Regions from separate parts of the Homo sapiens genome. Here region 1 is linked to region 2. The links are contacts of gene promoters, found by promoter capture Hi-C in human tissues and cell types (Jung and others, 2019). All regions are on one chromosome and are shown on one strand. Each heading gives the region's core, a stretch centred on a gene start or on the middle of the fragment in contact. The rest is flanking DNA. Distances are from core to core; before and after follow the strand shown.

Region 1 (4,585 bases), core at 1,665-4,164, 130 kb after region 2:
AGGGAGGAACCCAGGAGCTACAGCCTTCTGTTCCTGCCCCACACCAGGAGCTGAAGCTGGACTAGAGGTGGCAGGACAGACCCTGTCCATGTGTCACCAACCATTCTGGTCAGATTCTGTGATTCACACATCCCCATCTCCCCTCCTGCACATCCTCCCCACCCCCCAGCATGAGTCAAATCCTCGCTAAGCCACAAATAGCTGTCCTCTGTATGAGTCCTCAACATGGCCTCCTGCCTTGAAGAAGACAGAGACCCCCTCAAGGTCCCCCTCAGAGCAAAATCCTCTGTGGAAGCTCACAGGCCCCCCGAGGACATCCATGTACAGAGGAGAGGCCAAGCGAAGACAGAACTCAACCCATCAGGGCCAGCTTTGTTCTCTGGGCTTGTCCTTCCTCTACCTGGCCAAGTCACCTCTGCCAGGAAGCTTTCCTAGGTTTCCCCTACCCTCTTCTCAAAGCCACAGTTCTCACCACACTTTACCAAGCCTCATCTTAGGCTGGGGCTGCAGCCTAGTCCCATCATCAAGCTTCCTACAGAGCTTAGCCTGGAGCCTGGCCAAAAAGAGTTCTGGAAACACTTGGAGATAAATTTACCAGAACATCTTCCGCCTACCAGACTGGCCTGCCCTGACCACCTCACTCTGCAGTAGAAGACAGGCTGGAGGACAGGGCTGGGAAAGGGGCCCCCATTTCAGCAGGCAGCCAAGCACCAGGGAAAGGCAATGCTGACGCGGAGGGCCTGCGTGCTGGGCACTCCATGTGATTTCCACTGCAGCGATGGTACCTCGGCCAGGCGCAGGCCAGTTCATGCCCACTTCACGGATGAGCACTCTGAGGCCTGTGGAAATGGTGCAACTTGCCCGAGACCACACTGCTGAACCACAATCTGAACCCAGTCAACTCAGCCATGGCCCTGTCCCCTAGGCTGTCAGGCCTCCTTAACCTCAAGGGGGACTCCAATGGCCAAATAGGAAGTAGGTTGCAGGTAAGAGCCGCCCCTCGTATACAGCCTTTTCCAACTTTGAGAAGGGGGCTACCTCAGGAACTCACTGCCTCCACAAGCAAGCCAAAGCTGAGTGCAATGGGGAAGTCCTTCCTTATACCCTATCAGGGCTATCCTGCAGTAGGAACGTTGGCCAGCAGGGCAGAGCCCCAGCTCCCTCCAATGCCCCCACCAGGGAGCCTGAGCCAGGTATGGGGAGAATGCCCACTTCCTCTGGGATCTGCTTCTTGCTAGTGCCTGGACCCTTAGAGTGCGCCAAGCTGTATGTAAATGGAATGTGAGTGTTCAACCTGCCTTGACACGCCATGAACCTGTTACTCTCGGGTGCTCTGTGGTGACTCCTTTAGCAAAGCAAATCCCCTCTGCAGGCTGTGAGGGATCCACAGCTGCACAAGCAAGGGGCTTCTAGTGCAGCCCCAGCTACCCCACCTTTCTAGCCTCCCCAATCCGAGAGAAGCCACCTTGCCTGGTGAGCCTCATGATTGGCTTAAGGAGAGGCAGGTGGCTGAACCAGCAGGTCAAATTACTGGCAAAATGCTTTGCAGGTGCTTCCAACTTTCTGTAAATTCCCAACTAGCTCGCTCACTCCCCACCTAGTCACTCACTCACTCATTCATTCATTCCGATAGTAACCATGTACCTACTATGGGCACCTGGGAGGGATTTGGCAGCAAGCAGGGCAGATGCAGGCCTGTCCTTGGGAGCTTGGAATCCAAGCAGAGGAAGCTGATACCTGATCCGGATTGGGGCCTGATGAGAAGAAGAGTCCAGCAAGCCTTGGGGACAGGATGCATGGGATGCATGGGATGCATGGGAAGGGGCCTGACCTGGCCTAGGGACTGGCCAGGTGAAGGTGGCACCACAGAGCAGGAGGGCAATCCAAATGGAGGGCACAACATATGCAAGGCCCAGCAGTGGGCTCCACACACAGTGATGCCCCGTGAGCACCCACAGACCGACCGTGGGCACCAAGGCAGGCTGCTCCCACACCGAGGCCTGCAGAATTCCTACCCTCAAGTACATGGGAGCACCTCCACACACTGGATGGAAGGGCAGTGAGACGGCTGTGCCCAGGGAAGCTGGGCCTCTTTAAGTGGGAGCTCAGTCTCTCAGGAGCTGATTTCATTCATTCATTCATTCATTCACTCCACAGAAACAAACCAGTACCCATCACAACTGGGCCCGGGTGCAGAGCCTCTTCCCCCCGGCATCCTGACACTGCCCTGTACTTTGTATCTTGCAATCTTGACCCCAGGGTGAGGGCAGCAGAGAGTACTGAGGCTCAGCACAACAAACATTAGAGGCTGGGGATATTGTTATTACCCACCCCACCCCCCACACCTCTTCCCCCAGCTCCATGGGAGCTCCCGCCTGCTGCAGCCCCTCTACCACCCCCCTAGCAAGAAGTGCCCACAAGTGCAAAGCTTTCGCCATTTTCCTGGTGTTTTTTTTTTGTTTGTTTTTGTTTTTGAGACAGAGTCTCGCTCTGTTGCCCAGGCTGGAGTGCAGTGATGTGATCTCTGCTCACTGCAAGCTCCGCCCCTCGGGTTCATGCCATTCTCCTTCCTCAGCCTCCCGAGTACCTGGGACTACGGGCGCCCACCACCACACCTGGCTAATTTTTTTGTATTTTTAGTAGAGATGGGGTTTCACCCTGTTTGCCAGGATGGTCTCGATCTCCTGACCTTGTGATCCGCCCACCTCAGCCTCCCAAAGTGCTGGGATTATAGGCATGAGCCACCGCGCACGTCCTTCCTGGTGTTTTCTGACACAGATATTGTCACTAGAACATCATCTCCTGAGAACAGCACCTGACAGGCAGAAGGTGCTCAAAAAATGCTGGCTGAATGACTGGATGTTCCATCCTTACAACTATGAAACATAGGAAATGTGATCCCATCATAAAGATGAGGTAACTGGGGCACAAACAAGGTCACATATGGGGTTCCCTTTATAATCCCCAGAACCAGGCTTTCTACCACACAGCAGGCATATGCATCAGGGCCCACAGCTCCAGGGCCTTCTAGATGGCCCCATGAAGTCCCCATCCTTCTTCATTGTAGAGTAATGGCCTCCTCCATATGCCACCAGTCTGGAAATCACCTGTGAAACATACTTCCCCCCGCGCTGGCTCAGGAACCGTGTAAATCACTAGGCTTAATGGCCTTTGGGATTGTTCCCCACAACCCCCTCCCCAGCTGTTCTGTGCCAGGGAAGATGGGGCTATGGGGCGCCAGACAGGCAGGGCCATAGTCATGAGGTCTGGGCAGCCCAAGGCATGGTAAGTGCTAGGAGGCACTGCCCAGGGGAGCAGCAGCCCCGGAAGCGCATCAGAAAGACAGCGGTGGGGCTGCCGGGAGCCTCCAAAACTGGGGCTGGGGCTGGGGCTGGGGCTGGGGCTGGGGCTGGATCTATATGCAAGGCAAGCCTCTCCCCTACTCAACTCCTGCCCCTTACCTCGTCCCCCCATCAATGGCTTATCCATGGAGAAAGATGTGTCCAGGTGATCTCCCCAGGACCTCCACACCCTGACTGGGGAGGCCCAGGGCCATGGGAATGGCAGGGGAGCCTGGGGGCCTGGAGCAGGATGTCTCATGGCCCCTTGGATGCTGCTTGGAGCACCAACCATGCATGGTGTTATTTATTTGGCCTCACTCCCATGTCTTCTTCACTGTTTATCTCCCCCATGGACTGAGTGTCCCAAGAGCAGGGACCCAGTTGGCCCTTGGAGACCCCAGAGCCCACTCAGGGCAACACACAGCTAAGGTGTGGGAGTGGATTCAGGTGGGGAAGGGATGGTCAGGAAGCAGGTCCTGAAAGATGGGCAGGCTGTGGAGTGGGCGGCAGGGCAGATGGGGCATGGGCAAATGTCTATGCAGAGGAGCGGTTTGGAAGGAGCGGGGCAGACGGCTGGGAAGCCAGGTGATCTCCCTGGGACAAGCTGCAGATTTTGGCAACTGGCTGCATGCACAGGCATTTGGGTTCAGCTGGCTCCCATAGATACCATGGTTAGGACATTGCTCAGAACCAATATACACCATCCCCCAACCCTGGGAGCCTCAGTGCCCCCTTGCTGGGCAGAGGGTGAGGATCCTGTGTTTATCTTCCTATCCCCTAAGGCCACAGTTCTGTACCTTGGCTCAACTTAGGGGGAAGAGGGGGCTCTAGAAAACATGCTAATGCCTGGACCCTGCCTCCCACCCCATTAAATAATACAGGTCAGTGGGTCTCTGGACACCCCCTTTACTTCCCTCCCCAGAGCAGCCCTTGGTGGCAGCCCCTGGGCTGGGAAAACTCCTTGCAAAAGCCACAGGAAGATATGTGGGAGTGGCCTATGCCCTCTGGCTCCAGCAAAGCCAGGCTCTGTCCCAGGCTGCTGTGTAAGAGGCTGCTCCATTTTCCACAGTCATGACGAGCTTGGCTCTGTGGACACCTGCACAGACCATGGGCTCCCTGTTCAGCACATATGGATTGAGTACTTGGTGTATGCTAGCTGGGAGCTCCAGCCAAGGGCAACCAGCCACTGCCCCCACCCCTCCCAGCCACATAGTCCCTGAGCAGCCAGGCAGCAAGGTCTATTT
Region 2 (4,313 bases), core at 864-3,363:
TCAAAACAGTGAGGAATAATGTTGGAAATGGAGCTGTGGATCTTATGAAGGCTGGGACCACTCTGCTGGCTCCACAGATCTGGGAGAGAGAGTAAGCTGAATTTAAAAAGATCCCTCCTGCCCTGGCCAAAGTGCATTCAGTGAATAATTCAGCTGGGACTCCTGATGCTGTGGATAGCTTGGTTTACAGATAATGAAAGGGTCATCGCCACTCCCTGGTGTCAGCAGGCTCCCTCAGTGGGTCATGTAGCCTGTCCCTGGTTTTGGTGACACATGCTTGCTGGAGACAGAGGTAAATGTGGTAATACCCCAAGCTTCCCTCTCAATAAGTAAGTGGCAGAGAAGCACAGCATCTGAGTTAAAGCCCAGGAAGAGGACACAGCATTTGGAAATTGGAGTGGCCCAGATCACCTTTTGAGGACCCCAGGCCTCCTTCCCTGTCCCTTCCTCACAGGGGAAAGTACCAGCAGGTTGCTTCTGGCTCCCACAGGCCCAATGTCTAGGATTCTGAGATTCTGAGGCAAGGCCAGGGTTCTGTGTCCCTCCACTGGGACTTCACAGCACCAAAGGAAACTGCATTTCTTGAGACTTATTAAGTGGCCCGAGTGGTGAGAAAAGTGCCTCGTGGACCCCAGACACCTAACTGCTGAGTTCCTTAAGGCCAAAGACTGATTTTGTCTTTCCGGATGTGCCCCAATACCTGACTGTAGGTCTCCACCTATGTACAGCGAACACCTCAACAGATGGCATGTGACTCGACCAGTATGCTCCTAGCTTGACAAGATTTTGGAAAATTTCACAGTACCTTCTCCGCTCGGCGTCTTGAGGGTCTGTGCCTGGCAGGCTGATGGTGATGGAGGATGGGGCACCCACATCGTAGCGCTTCACCGTCTTCTGGCATATCTTTACCTTCACCAGGAGGCTGTGCACCAAGTTCGCCAGCAAACCCACCACAGGCTGCAGGATCTCAGGGAAGAAAGTGGCGAAAGCAAAGTGGTCAGCCATGTCCCCTCGGCCCCGGCTATGGCGCTGGTAGAAGCGAAGATATACCCAACTGGAGAGCAGCCCGAAGCCATAGGAAGCCAGCGCCGGGCTCTGGAGCAGCGTGGCGAGCCGCAGCAGGAGCAGCAGCGCCAGCAGCAGCATGGGCATCACACTGACGCGCACCTGGGGCACTCGCAGGACCACACAGTCCCCCATGGTTTGCTTGAGTGCCACCAGGACGCCACCTAGGAAGCCCAAGGCGCCGTGGATACGGACAGTGAACAGGTAGACCAGGTTGAAGGAAGCCATGTAGGTGAGGAGGTAGGCGAAGGCCCCCAGCAGCCCTACAGACACATTCACCACTGAGAAGAAGATGAGCAGCTCCAAGGCCCCCCAGAGGGGCTCCAGCAAACGCCCGGCCACCACCACCGTTGTCAGGCTGATGGCCACGTCCCACACATGCTGCTCCATCAGCCCATGGGTGGCCAGGGTCCAGATCCAGAAGTTGGGAGGAAAGAGGTAGCCCGGGGTGACCGCCAGGCAGCCTGTGTCCACGGCGAAGGAGAGCAGGTAGAGGAATAGTACCGCCGCACACAGAGCCTTCACCACCACGCTGGCGCTGGCCAGAATGGCCCCCAAGTGCTGGCGGGCGCCTGGCAGGGCACGTTGCATCTTCCTGGCGGCTGTCGGCCTGAGAAAAGGGTCTGGTAGGCCAGGGGCCTCCCCGGGGCCTCGTCCTAGTCCGGCCCCGATGGGAGGCCCAGGCCCGGCCTAGTCACTGGCCTATGGCCCTGGTAAAGGATCCGCTTCCGATCGGGTGGGGCTCTGGTCCCGAGGGGCCGAGTCGGGCCTTGTTGCCGGGCCGCAGCGTAGGCCCCTCGCCCGGGACCTGAGGGAAGGCCCTGGACGGCTGCGGCACGCCCGCCTACCCACCCTGTAGGCCCCGTGCCAGGCTAGCCTGGTTGGCGTTGACCTCAGGGCTGGGCCTCCTCCATCCACTGCGAGGCCCTTCGGTTCGCAAGGGGACTGGTGCCTCGTTCTGTACCCGAGTCAAGCCTGGTCAGCTCCCGCTCGGCCTGGCTCCTGGCTTCGACCGTACCTCTTCTCTCGGGGGGCCGACAAACAGGGGTGCTGCGCCTGCGCGTCCCCGGCGGCAGCGGGCTGTCCTCTAAGCGCCTGTCTTCCGGCTCCTCTGCATGCTGGGATACGGAGTCCTTGGTTGCAGCCGGGGAAGAGTTGAACAGGGTTCTGGCTAGAACTACAAGTCCCAGGAGGCCATGAGCACGGACCGGTCCCGTTGTGGTGAGCGCGGGGTGTGCTGGGAGTTGTAGTTCTCAGGGACCGTTTCCGTCGGTTCTCAGGAGGTGGGAAGGGATGAATTAGCATCTCTAACCCCTGAAAGCGGCGGTGAGGGTTCGGGAAGCAACACAGCTCTAGCCCCCACACTTGCTGAATTCCCTAGGAAGAGTAGCTCTATTTGTGCGTGTACCTCTGAGCGAGTGTGTCCTTGTTGGCTGGCGTGTGGGTAGGTGTCACTGTGTGAGAAACAGAACCTCCGTGGTCTGGTGAATGGGACCTGACCCAGGCTGGAACCCTTGCTCTGCCTCGGAGGCTGTGTGGCATTGGTTGGTTAAGTTCCTGAACCTTTTTGAAACTCAGTTTCATGGGCCATAAAATGTAGCTGATGACATGATCTTCCTGTCCTAATAATCAAAGGGGAAAGGGGTGTAAAATGCCAGTCCACCCTGGGTGCTCAGCGAGTGCTGCACATGTTGCCTTTTTTTGTTTGTTTTCTCCCACTTGGAAAAGTTTTTTGTTTGTTATTTCACGTTGCCCTTTTTCCAAGTGAGGTGGACCTGGAGCACGAACCTAGGGCTCCCTCCCGCATAGGGACGAGGCTGGGCAGCCCTCAGTGACCCTCCTCCCCACCAGGGACTTCTGATAACTGCGGAGGATGAGAGGTCTCTCTACAAGCCAGGTCTCTCCACAAGCCTGGGCTAGGCCTGTTCTGGTCCCACTTCACGCCACAGTGACTTCTGACAGGTTGTGTTCTGTGTCTTTTTTTTTTTTTTGTATATGGAGTTACTTTTAAAAAACTGTACATATAGGCTGGGCACGGTGGCTCACGCCTGTAATCCCAGCACTTTGGGAGGCTGAGGCGGGCAGATCACCTGAGGTCGGGAGTTTGAGACCAGCCTGACCAACATGGATAAACCTCATCTCTACTAAAAATACAAAATTAGCCAGGTGTGGTGGCACATGCCTGTAATCCCATCTACTCGGGATGCTGAGGCAGGAGAATCGCTTGAACCCGGGAGGCGGAGGTTGCGGTGAGCCAAGATCATGCCATTGCACTACAGCCTGGGCAACAAGAGCGAAACTTTGTCTCAAAACAAAACAAAAAGCTGTCCATATAATTAAAATAATTCTATGACAAAGTGCTTTTATAAAACACAGGATCCCTTCCTTTCAGCCACTGATTTCAGTGTGTGCTGATGTGTGCATGGCCTACAGGTTAAAAAGGGTGCTGATGCTTTTTTTCTGGGGTCTGGGTTCCCACTGGTTGCCACATCTGGGTAAGGTTGCCAGTTTTAGCAAATCAAAATAAGGATGCTCAGTCAAATTTGAATTCCAGATAAACAATGAGTAATCTTCGAGTATAATCATGTCCCCCTGCCCCCTTTTTTTTTTTTTTTTTTTTTTGAGACAGGGTCTAGCTTTGTCCAAGGCTGGAGTGCAGTGGCACAATCATAGCTCACTGCCACCTCTAACTCCTGGGCTGAAGGGATCCTCCAGCCTCAGCCTCCTGATTAGCTGCGACTACAGGCACACACTACTGTGCCCAGCTAATTTTTAAAATTTTTTTATTTTGTAGAGACATGGGCAGGGGCGGGGTGGCCATCCTACCCAGGCTGATCTCGAACTCGTGAGCTCAAGCGATCCTCCTGCATCAGCCTCCCAAAGTGTTGGGATTACAGGCGTTAGCCACTGTGCCCAGCCCCCAGTTTTTCAGTATAGGTATGTCCCACACAATAGTTGAAACACTTCCATACTAAAAACTCGTTCATGATCTGAAATTCAAAATAGGGTGTTCTGTATTTTATCTTACAACCCTATCCAAGATTGCACGGTCTCTTGCAGGCCATGGGAGCTGTCTTGGGGGTTGTGGATTAGGCATTGCTCTGCAGCCGAACCCTGCAGAGGAGACAGAAAAAGTCTCCATCTTGGCTGAGGCCTCGAAGCCCCTTCATCTATTTAGCATCCAAGCTCCCCAACCCTTGGTGGCCACCTCTTCTCTAAAATCTTTGCTGGTTTTTAGCCTTCTCACC

Evidence for each region. Contacts are between HindIII fragments. The study calls those that stand out against the background at their distance.
Region 1: a contact is called between a fragment that was not itself captured here and the fragment with the promoter of TMEM115 in region 2, in 2 of the 25 tissues and cell types used here (neural progenitor cells and pancreas).

What each region holds. Positions count from the first base shown.
Region 1 is chr3:50,486,244-50,490,828 of GRCh38, forward strand. All of the region lies in intron 1 of CACNA2D2 (calcium voltage-gated channel auxiliary subunit alpha2delta 2), which reads right to left. Among named protein-coding and RNA genes, the nearest start is that of CACNA2D2, 15 kb to the right of the region's middle. RefSeq lists an enhancer at 1,911-2,411. The HindIII fragment of the contact is 4,875 bases long and covers 478-4,585 here.
Region 2 is chr3:50,357,408-50,361,720 of GRCh38, forward strand. TMEM115 (transmembrane protein 115) reads right to left here and starts at 2,114. Exons shown (of 2, transcript NM_007024.5): 1 at 806-2,114. The coding sequence starts at 1,656. LOC127898564 (CYB561D2-LOC101928965) reads left to right here. Exons shown (of 5, transcript NR_183066.1): 3 at 711-1,269. RefSeq lists enhancers at 1,417-2,307, 2,034-2,333. The HindIII fragment of the contact is 17,456 bases long and covers 1-4,313 here.